Linked DNA regions of Homo sapiens: region 1 is linked to region 2. The links are contacts of gene promoters, found by promoter capture Hi-C in blood cells and fetal thymus (Javierre and others, 2016). All regions are on one chromosome and are shown on one strand. Each heading gives the region's core, a stretch centred on a gene start or on the middle of the fragment in contact. The rest is flanking DNA. Distances are from core to core; before and after follow the strand shown. Region 1 holds the start of ZNF451 (zinc finger protein 451). Region 2 overlaps LRRC1 (leucine rich repeat containing 1).

Region 1 (4,612 bases), core at 262-2,761, 3.3 Mb before region 2:
CTGGCGAGCTGAGATACCACTTTACGCAAAGCCTTTCTAAAACTCCAATAATTATGGAAGAAAATCACCCCAAAATACATCATAAAACACTCTCTTCTGCTTTGGAAACCCATGCTGTACAAAGTGTGCTCAGAAATCCTTATGTCCCTGCACTTGTCTGAAAATGAAGATTCCTAGGCCCCCGCCTGGAAATTCTGATTCGGTAGGTCTGCAGTGGGGCCCAGGAATCTGCCTGTTTATACTTACTAAGGCTTGAAAACTACTGTCTCAAAGGGAACAAACTCAGAAAAATAGAGCATGTTCCCAGTGATGTAGGATTCTTCATTATGAGCATCAACTGTACTATGCCGTAACATGATGATCTCAGAGGTTAGAGAAATCTTCAAGCTATTTGCCTTCATGTTAGAAGCACCATAACGCTAAGATTCTGGGCTCTCACAACCCTTCCTGTTTTCTACGTCCTTGCTCATCATTAGCAGCTCCTTCCTCCGTGTCGCCTTTAGAAGTTACTCTTGCTCCATTTCAAAACAGCGTTTTAGACACCAGCGTTTTTATCTTAAGTTTAAATGAAAGGCAGGGGGCGAGATTAAGTGTACAGCACGTTCTTTAGGACGTGCTCTTTGTGATGGCTACGGGGGTGGCTCAGATAGCTCTTTTGGTAAATTTCCCAATCCTGCGCCATGCTCCAGTGTCTAGTATGTATTAGACACTCATGAACATTAAATGACCAGGTGAGGTAACATTACATAATGGCCCACCATAGTCTTTTACTCTGGGAAAACCCCAATCATCATTGCTACTTACACTGACAAACTGAATGTCGTCTTCATTTTCATCCGTTGTTGACTCAGATGCCTCAGGGCCAGCTGGAGGGACAGATTCTATTATCTATAAAAACAAGCCAAAACATGCTTATCTGTTCAGCCACATTCGTGTAGGAAGAGAGCGTTTCCGAAAGGAACAATTAAAGACAGAGAGCTCTTGAGGAAAACGAACTGAGCACAATTTCACGGAAACCCGACTAGGAACGGAACTCGAGCTCTGGCTCTTGCCACAGAGTGTGCGGAGCTGCAGGGACCCAACGCTGAAAACGCGTTAGTTACCAGCCTCTCACAATTCCCCTTATCTACTCCAGGAGGAACGCAAGCTCAACACCGAAGGGCAATCCTGCCTTAAAACGTCGCTCCCACTGGCCCAGCCGCGGCCACAACGAACGCCAGGGCCCGTGCGGGGGGCCGGGCGGCCATTGTTGCTGCGGGTTCCTCGCTCAGACACGCACCAGGCCCCAGAGCTGGGCTCGGCCCAAGACACTGAAGAGGTATCGCCCCGAGGCTGCGACGGAGCACCAGGCCTCAGACCGCAGAAAACACAAACCCTTCGCGGTTCGCCTCTGAGAACGCCAGGACCCTCACTCGACTACTCACCTCCGACCCCGGGTCTCCCATGTCTCCGACGGCCGCGCTGACAGCACCACTGCTCCTGCTGTCCCTGCCGCCGCCGTCGCCACGAATCCCCTTCCCGCCCTGCACCGCCTGGCGCTACCGGGACCCGCCCCTGCGTGAGCGCCGACGCCACCGGCGGAAAGAGACGCAAAACCTCTTCAAAGGAGGAGCGGCCCTTACTGGCCCGCTATGCCCCCGGAGCCGCTTTCTCTCACTCCCGGGCTTCCTTCCCCGCGCCGCGCAGGATGCTGGGAATTGTAGTTCGGGTCCGCCCCGAGACCGCCCCTCGCCGGAGAGGAAAAGAACCATGCGCCTAAAAGACGCCAGCTGCAGTGGGTGGGGCGAAGCCAGGGGCCAGCTGGGTCCTGTGAGATAGCGAAGCACTGGGAAGATGTGGGAGGATGTGAAGGAGGGTTTGAGTTGGTATTTGTTTGGTTTTGGTATGGTTGTGAAGCGCAGCTCATTGATTTTTCTGTTTTAGCCCTGAAGGTGGGTGGTGGGAACGGATTTCTCTTTTTTTCCTTTCATTTTTAAATTTATGTATTTACTCATTTTTGAGGACAGGGGCTATGTGGAGGTTTAGCTGAATCCTAGGATCAGGAAAGAATCTGAAGTATCCTTACATTACACACCTCTTCCCTAGCGTCAGTCTCCCAGGCCCTGCCAGTATTAATACACCTGAGGAAGAAAATAGGGATGGGAAATCCAGGGCCCAATAGGAAAGGGAACCGAGGTCTACCTAACTATCACTAAACCCTAGCCAGTGATTTTGAAATGCACTTTTTCAATATTCTCAGATATACTGAGAGAATATGAGAGATCTATTTATAGACTGCTGTAAGGTTGACCTTTTAACCTTTTGTGTGTTCACACTCATAAACCAGTCTATAAAATAGATCTTTTATATTCAACTATGCATTTAATCTGTTCTCAGGTAATACCTTACCAAAAATTTAAAAAGGTTTTTTAAAAAAACACACCAATCGTTGTCAATAAAGTTTATGAAAAGAATTAAGTGATAACATTATTTTAGGCCAGGCGGGTCCTCACACTCTGGGAGGCCGAGGCGGGCGGTTCACTTAAACCCAGGAATTCGAGACCAGCCTGAGCAATAAGAGGGAACCTCGTCTCTACAAAAAATACAAAAATTAGCTAGGCGTAGTGGTCCTTGCCTGTAGTCCCAGCTACTCAGGAGGTTTAGGTAGGAGAATCGCTTGAGGCCGAGAGATTGAGATCCAGGCTGCAGGGAGCCAAATTCATGCCACTGCACTGCAGCCTGGGTGACAGAGCAAGACACTGTCTCAAAAAAAAAAAAAAAAAAACACAAATTATTTAACATCTCAGATTCCTGTTTTTGTTTGTATGCAAAACTACCATCTGATTGCCTAAGCCTGTAGTAATTATTGTTTAATATTTGACATTTCCTGCATTTCCACCAAGTGCTTTATGACTTTAGTTACTTTCTACCTAGTAAGTTTGAGACTTGTGGAAGCCAATTGAGAATGACAGACGTGCATGGGGAGTTCTTCAAAAGCTGTGTGTAAATTAAATATTTTTAAAACGTTAATGTGTAGGCAAAACTTGTATTTAAAAGCTCTTCCTAGTGGGCTGGTGAAAGTGTCCTCTAATATTTAATCAGTTGAGGCAGGAGTTAATGGGTAAAATTCTTGGAAAACAAGCAGTATGTGGCTAGACCCAAAAACTTCTCACACCATACAACTCAGTAACTGTAGTTGCAGGGATTTTCCTGAAGATACATCACAGGTTTTTTTATAACAGCAAAAACTGGAAAATATCTAAATGTCTAATAATTGGGGAATGTAATGTTTAAATTTTGGTATGTATGCTATAAAGATAACATTACAGTGTTTTATCTCCACTGAAAATGTTTACCTAACATTTCTCAAAGCATATTTTTCAAAAATTCAAGAAATATATAGGATAATTAGAACCATGTTGTATTCGTTCTTGCACTGCTATAAAGAACTACCTGAAACTGCGTAATTTATAAAAGAAAGAGGTTTAATTGGCTCACAGTTCCACAGGCTGTACAGGAAGCATGGCTGGGGAGGCCTTGGGAAACTTAAAATTGTGGCAGAAGGTGAAGAGGAAGGAGGAACCTCTTTACATGGGCAGAGGAGGAAGAAAGCAAAGCAGGGAGGTGCTACACACTTTTTAACAACTAGATCTCGTGAGAACTCACTCATTATTAGAGAACAGCAAGGGGGAAATCCGCCCCCATGATCCAATCACCTCCCACCAGGCCCCTCCCCCAATATTGGGGATTACAATTCCACATGGAATTTGGGTGAGGACACAAATCCAAACCATATCACATGTCAAGCCATCAAGAAAAGCATCCCTGAAAGAGAAAACCTACTTAAACAGGAATAGTAATTTATTTTTTTTCTGGGCAGCTGGACTATGTGTTTACAAGAAAATCCAGGCTGGGGGTGGTGGTTCACACTTATAATCCCAGCACTTTGGGAGGCAGGAGGAATGCTTGAGCCCAGGGGTTCAAGACCAGCCTAGGTAACATAGTGAGACCCTGTCTCTGCAAAAAAATTTAAAATTAGCCAGGTGTGGTGGTACATGTGTGTGGTCCCAACTGCTCAGGAGGCTGGAGTGGGAGGATCACTTGAGCCCAAGAGGTCAAGGCTTCAGTGAACCTAATCTCACCACCGCACTACAACCTGGGTAACAAAGCAAGACCCTGTCTCAAAAAAAGAAAATAAAAAGAAAATCCTGGGCCGGGCGTGGTGGCTCATGCCTGTAATTGCAGCACTCTGGGAGGCCAAGGTGGGCGGATCACCATGTCAGGAGACTGAGACCATCCTGGCTAACACGGTGAAACCCCGTCTCTACTAAAAATACAAAGAATTAGCCGGGCGTGGTGGCGGGTGCCTGTAGTCCCAGCTACTTGGGAGGCTGAGGCAGGAGAATGGCATGAACCTGGGAGGCAGTTGAAGTGAGCTGAGACTGCGCCACTGCACTCCAACCTAGGCAACAGAGCGAGACTCTGTCTCAAAAAAAAAGAAAAAAAGAAAATCCTTTGAAGCCCACCAAGAGATTTGAGACATGCTTGTAGTCCCCAAAAGACAGGTTTATTTAGCTTGGTGTAGCCAAAGAGAAGAAAAGCCATAGGCAAAATTTAGGAATCTCCCAGTCTT
Region 2 (5,209 bases), core at 2,654-5,153:
CACCACACTCCAGACTGGGCGACAGAGTGAGATTCCGTCTAAAAAAAAAAAAGTATTATTGAAAAGAATATTAAAAATGTAATTCTGGCTTTAAAAAATAACTCCCAGGAAAATGTCTTCAAACTCCAGTTTAAGAAACATTATTTTGGCCGGGCATGGTGACTCATGCCTGTAATCCCAGAACTTTAGGAGACGGAGGCAGGCAGATCACTTGAGGTCAGGAGTTCAAGACCAGCCTGCCCAACATGGTGAAACCCCGTCTCTATTAAAAACACAAAAATTAGCTGGGCGTGGTGGTGTGCGCCTGTAATCCCAGCTTACTCGAGAGGCTGAGGCAGGAGAATCACTTGAACCAGGAGACGGAGGTTGCAGTGAGCTGAGATCGCGCCACTGCACTCAAGCCTGGGTGACAGAGAGACTTCGTCTCAAAAAAAAAAAAAAAAAAAAAAAAGAAAAAGAAACATTATTTTAAAATAAACGGATCTTGCCACAGTATCCAGAAAGATGTTAGACATCTGAGAGCTAACTCTGTGCTGACACTTTTAGTGCTTTACACATAGTCTTTAATAACTCTATAACCCTATAAAGTAGGTAACACCCAAGGAAACAGAGGCTTGAACAGAGTCTCCAAGTGTTGGGGCAGCATTTTGAACTATCTGAATCCAGTACCTCTGCTCTCTGCCCTTTCAAGACCAGCCCTAAAGAGCCTCAGCAGAAGACAACCAGCAACGCACAACATAAATCCAGATGAAGCCTACCAGATGGGAGTGAGGGACTGAGAGAGAATAGGTGGCATTGTGAAAACAGAAATGGCAGGACTTGGCAACAAAATGGAGAGAAGAAGGAAGGATCAGAGGTAAGTCCTTGGACCTTTGAGATGGAAAGAATAGCTGCCCTGCCCCCTAGAAACAGAACTTCTGGGAAAAGCAGTCAGTTTGCAATATGAAACCTAAATTAAAACATGGTTGGTTTAAGGCAAAAGGGACTTACCACAAGTGGAGATGGATATTCCCTTAACAGATCACAGCTGGATATATTAAACTTTAAGTCATGTTCATAGAAAATATGTTTACAATGCATGAAGATTCTTTCAAAGATAAGGCAATCAAAGGTGTCCAGCACAGAAGAGATGGAAAACAAAAACTGGCAAGACAAGGACACCGGATTCTGAAAGAAGACTTTGTGTCAACAATAGCTTCACCAGATTGGTGTACAAAAGTCTGACCATAGGAAGGGGAATTATGACGGCTAAGAAACAGGGCCCATCTACCCATGTTAGGACTCACTGACACATCTTTGTGCCCACTATGTACTAAATACTGTCCTAGGTCCAGCCGTGAAGACCTCTGCACTCATGGAGGTTATGTTTTAGTTAGGGAGAGAGACAAAGAACAAGAAAGCAAATATATGGTCTGGAGTTAGGTAATGATATATGCTCTAAAGGACAGGAAAAAATAAAGCAGAATATGAGAAAGAATGATGTAGGGGGCAGGCATTTGAGATAATGCCATCTGGCAATCAACAAAAATCAACTGAACTCTTAAGAGGAGGTGGCAAGGTGAAATTCAAATTTTTAAAGCTATGAAGCCTTTAGTATATTCATTTAAAATATGTGCTGCCTACTACTACATGAAGCGCTATATTGGTGCTGGAGATTACAGGAAAACACACGCATTTGAAGGTATCTGAGAACTGGTGCACACTGAGGAGAAAACCAATGGCATGTGAAAGGCTGAGGAAGTACAGAGGGGAAGCCAAGGTTCCTGCAGGGCAAGTAGGACAAAACAGTGTCACCCTATGAATGACCTTTTCTTCTGAAGTTGCTTCCAACTTGAATATTCTGACTATATTAGAAAAGGATAGATGCTGGAGCAGTGATATGCTTAAGGGAAAAGAAAGAAGCAGAGGGAGGAAGATTTTTATAAGATTCGGCAACATTCATTCAACAGATAAATAACTGTTTATTGAGCAAGACCTATTGGGTGTCACAAGGATGAGATTCTGTGCTGAACAAAGGTAAGGCCGGGCATGGTGGCTCACGCCTGTAATCCCAGCACTTTGGGAGGCTAAGGCGGGTGGGTCATGAGGTCAGGAGATCGAGACCATCCTGGCTAACATGGTGAAACCCTGTCTCTACTAAAAATACTAAAAAATTAGCTGGGTGTGGTGGTGGGCACCTGTAGTCCCAGCTACTCGAGAGGCTGAGGCAGGAGAATGGTGTGAACCCAGAAGGAGGAGCTTGCAGTGAGTGGAGATCGTGCCACTGCACTCCAGCCTAGGCAACAAGAGTGAGACTCCGTCTCAAAAAATAAATAAATAAAAAATAAACAAAGGTAAGCAAAAACACACAGACATCTCAAGAAGGTTACAGTGAGACTGCCTTTGTTAGCACAGAGCCAAAAAGGATCAAACTGCGGGTATGGGGGAGAAGTAGGTGGATGCAAAAAGGATGGTGAGGCTATCACCCAACTGCAACCAAACTGAAGATGAGGGATCTGATGCAAAAGGTTAAAAGATTAGGGAAGTAACCATCAAGTCCATAGCTTAGGAGTAGTTTAACCGTGGTGTCCTTTCCATCCCACACTAACTACATCTGGATTAAAATCATCTGCTTCCTCCCAAAGATGTGAATCATGCCTCCTTTAATCTCTATATTCCCAATAACTTGTAAATAATGGAGTCTCAATAAATGCTTGGCTAAGGCTAAGTTATAATGACATGAGTAAAACAGGAGAGACTAAATAAAGATTTGATGGGTGTGAGAAGCAGGATAGAAGATTCCTGCTAGGTGTCCAAAGCAATTGTATTTGGCTGACATCTGAATGAACAAGACCCACCAGCAACTGCATCTAACTCACTGGACAGCCCTGAGAAAGTCACCTCAATTCTGAATCTGAATTTGTAAAAGGAAGATATTGGCGCAAACCAGAAGTTGCAGGCCTTTCAGTGGAAAGAAGGTGGCTGTTATTACACTGAAACCTGGAGAGTGCATCTTTGCTGCCCTGGTAAGGGGTACCGGCTTCCCCTTAAGCTGTGCTTCCAAACAAATTATAGAGAGGAGAACATACAGCTGGTATGGCCACCAAAATAAGGACCTTTGAGGCTTGTGAACAAAACAGATGCGCTTGTGTGTGGCAGGTAAGGAGACAGGGGTTTGGAGCAGGAGCAGCAGAGACCAGTGGTAATAAGTTATACAGATCTCAGAGGTGAGACAACAGATAGCCCAAGGAAAGAATGGAAGGGATGGAACAGATATCTATGTTTGCAAGGTGGTTCTCATGTCTGGCATGTACACACCCAGGCACCAAGACACACAATAAGTCAGGGAGAAGTAGATTTTACACAACCTAAAAACTTTAATACTAATTTAACAGCTGTTAGAGCAATAATAATCCATTAGCAAGATCACCTGTAACCTTTGAAAAGCTTGTTTATTTACCATATTTACAGAGTGCCATCAGACTATATTTTGAGATTCTGACAAGTTTCCATTTAGGATCACAGAAAGACCTGACATTTCGGCTTGGCATGGGAAATTATGTAATTTCCCATGCCAAGCTGAATTCCCCAACATTACAGGAAAACCCACAAACCCTGCAGAAGGGAGTGAAAAGCCAATCCAGTCAAAGGAAATCTTCCAGTTCTACAAAAGAAAACAAAAAAACAAATACCACAAAGAGCAATGAATCATTTCTAGTGAATAACTTTTCACTCCATCTTCAATAATGTCATCCTGAAGCCCCTGAAAACTATTAAATTACATATTCTATATTCCTGGTGATATCACTGCCTAAAATTACACAACTTAAAGCAGTGAGGGAGCTGACGACTGGTAAGAAATCTTCAAGGACGTAAAAGGCCAGAAAAAAATCATGTGTTTGAAAATGCCTGCGAAATAATAAACGCCTGAGGGAACTTGATGGCTTTGCTGCTTCTAAGCTAAATAAAGCCTGGGGGGCTTTGCAAAGGTCCTAGTGAGGATAATCTCCATGATTACACAGAGCAAACATCCAATCAATTCCACATGAACCCAGGAAAGTTAATCCAAGAAGAACACCACCACTTAAAATATTGAGAAAAACACACAGTTCTTATTGTTTAAATGCTCCATCAGCGCTGGAGAACGTATCAGGTCATTCTAACAAGTCAGAACACTTGACTAGTGTTTCTGTGACAATGATTTGGCTTGTGTTAACTAAAGGGCAACAAGAAGTTTGCGTTCCAAAGCTCAGGCCTAAAACAGGTCCAATCCCCGACTGCCAGCAGTCTCCCTACTTCCTGCACACCTTTGGATTATTGCACACCGACTTCCTGCACACACCTGGGTTTGAGACACCTTCCCCGAGGGGTTACTCTAGCTAAGTTCCCGAGGCAAGCTTGAAAGAAGTTCGCTGTACCCCTACTCTCGGTCAAAGCACCATCAGCACATGTCGCTTGACAAGTTCGGCGGCAATGGAGTGATCAATTTACATAAACAACTCTGAAGAGATAACGCATCACTGCAAGGAGAGAAAGTCAGCAGGACGACTGTGCCCGCTCCGGGAAAGGCGGCTGCAAGGCTGGCCCGCGGGCAGAGCCTCCGCTGACGTTCACCGCAGCTCCCACCACGCAACAGGTCCACGTAGGCAAGGCCCGGGCGGCCGGCATCTGGGCACCTGCCCCTAGCGCTCCAGGCCCAGCTCTCCCCTGCGCCCATCTCGCGTCCACCCCCGCAGCCACCGCAGGCCAGCCGGCCAAGCCCACCCGCGATAAAGCACGGAGCACATTCCTCATTCCTCCCAAGATGCCGAGATAGTGCGGCCCGCTTGAGCGCTGCCCAGGTCACAAGGTCCTCCGGGACATGCCTTGACTAAAGGAGAGGCGCGCCCGGCCCTTGGTGGGGGAACGACCCCGGGGAGTGGAGGGGGGGAGGATGCAGTGCTCTGTAGCTTCCAGATGGAAACAGCCCGAATCACCCGGCTTCTCACCTGACCGGGCACAAGTGCCAGGTGTCAGTACCTAGCATGGATCTAAGTTACTTAACAGTCCAGAACGCTTCTCCAATAGCACGAGCCCCAGTGACTACGCGCAAAATATCCGGTCACTTTGAATAAAATGAAAAGGAACTTTTACTGGGAAAGGATGGAAGTAAAGAGACAGGGGGAGAAAGAAGCAGGTGAATGCATAAAAGAGGGAAGGTTCCTTCACGCCGGACCCGGAGATGGAAGAG

What was found. The method cuts DNA at HindIII sites, captures the fragments that hold promoters and counts their contacts. A CHiCAGO score of 5 or more calls a contact.
Region 1: the fragment with the promoter of ZNF451 here is called in contact with a fragment that was not itself captured in region 2 in 1 of 17 cell types (naive CD8 T cells); the score reaches 5.9 in naive CD8 T cells.

The regions. Positions count from the first base shown.
Region 1 is chr6:57,087,087-57,091,698 of GRCh38, reverse strand. It overlaps ZNF451 (zinc finger protein 451), which reads right to left and starts at 1,511. Exons shown (of 15, transcript NM_001031623.3): 1 at 1,425-1,511; 2 at 805-888. The coding sequence starts at 1,445. RefSeq lists a silencer at 1,453-1,522 and enhancers at 943-1,825, 1,693-1,842. The HindIII fragment of the contact is 8,135 bases long and covers 1-4,612 here.
Region 2 is chr6:53,795,490-53,800,698 of GRCh38, reverse strand. The region is part of intron 1 of LRRC1 (leucine rich repeat containing 1); the gene reads right to left. Among named protein-coding and RNA genes, the nearest start is that of LRRC1, 3.1 kb to the right of the region's middle. RefSeq lists an enhancer at 4,910-5,209. The HindIII fragment of the contact is 950 bases long and covers 3,429-4,378 here.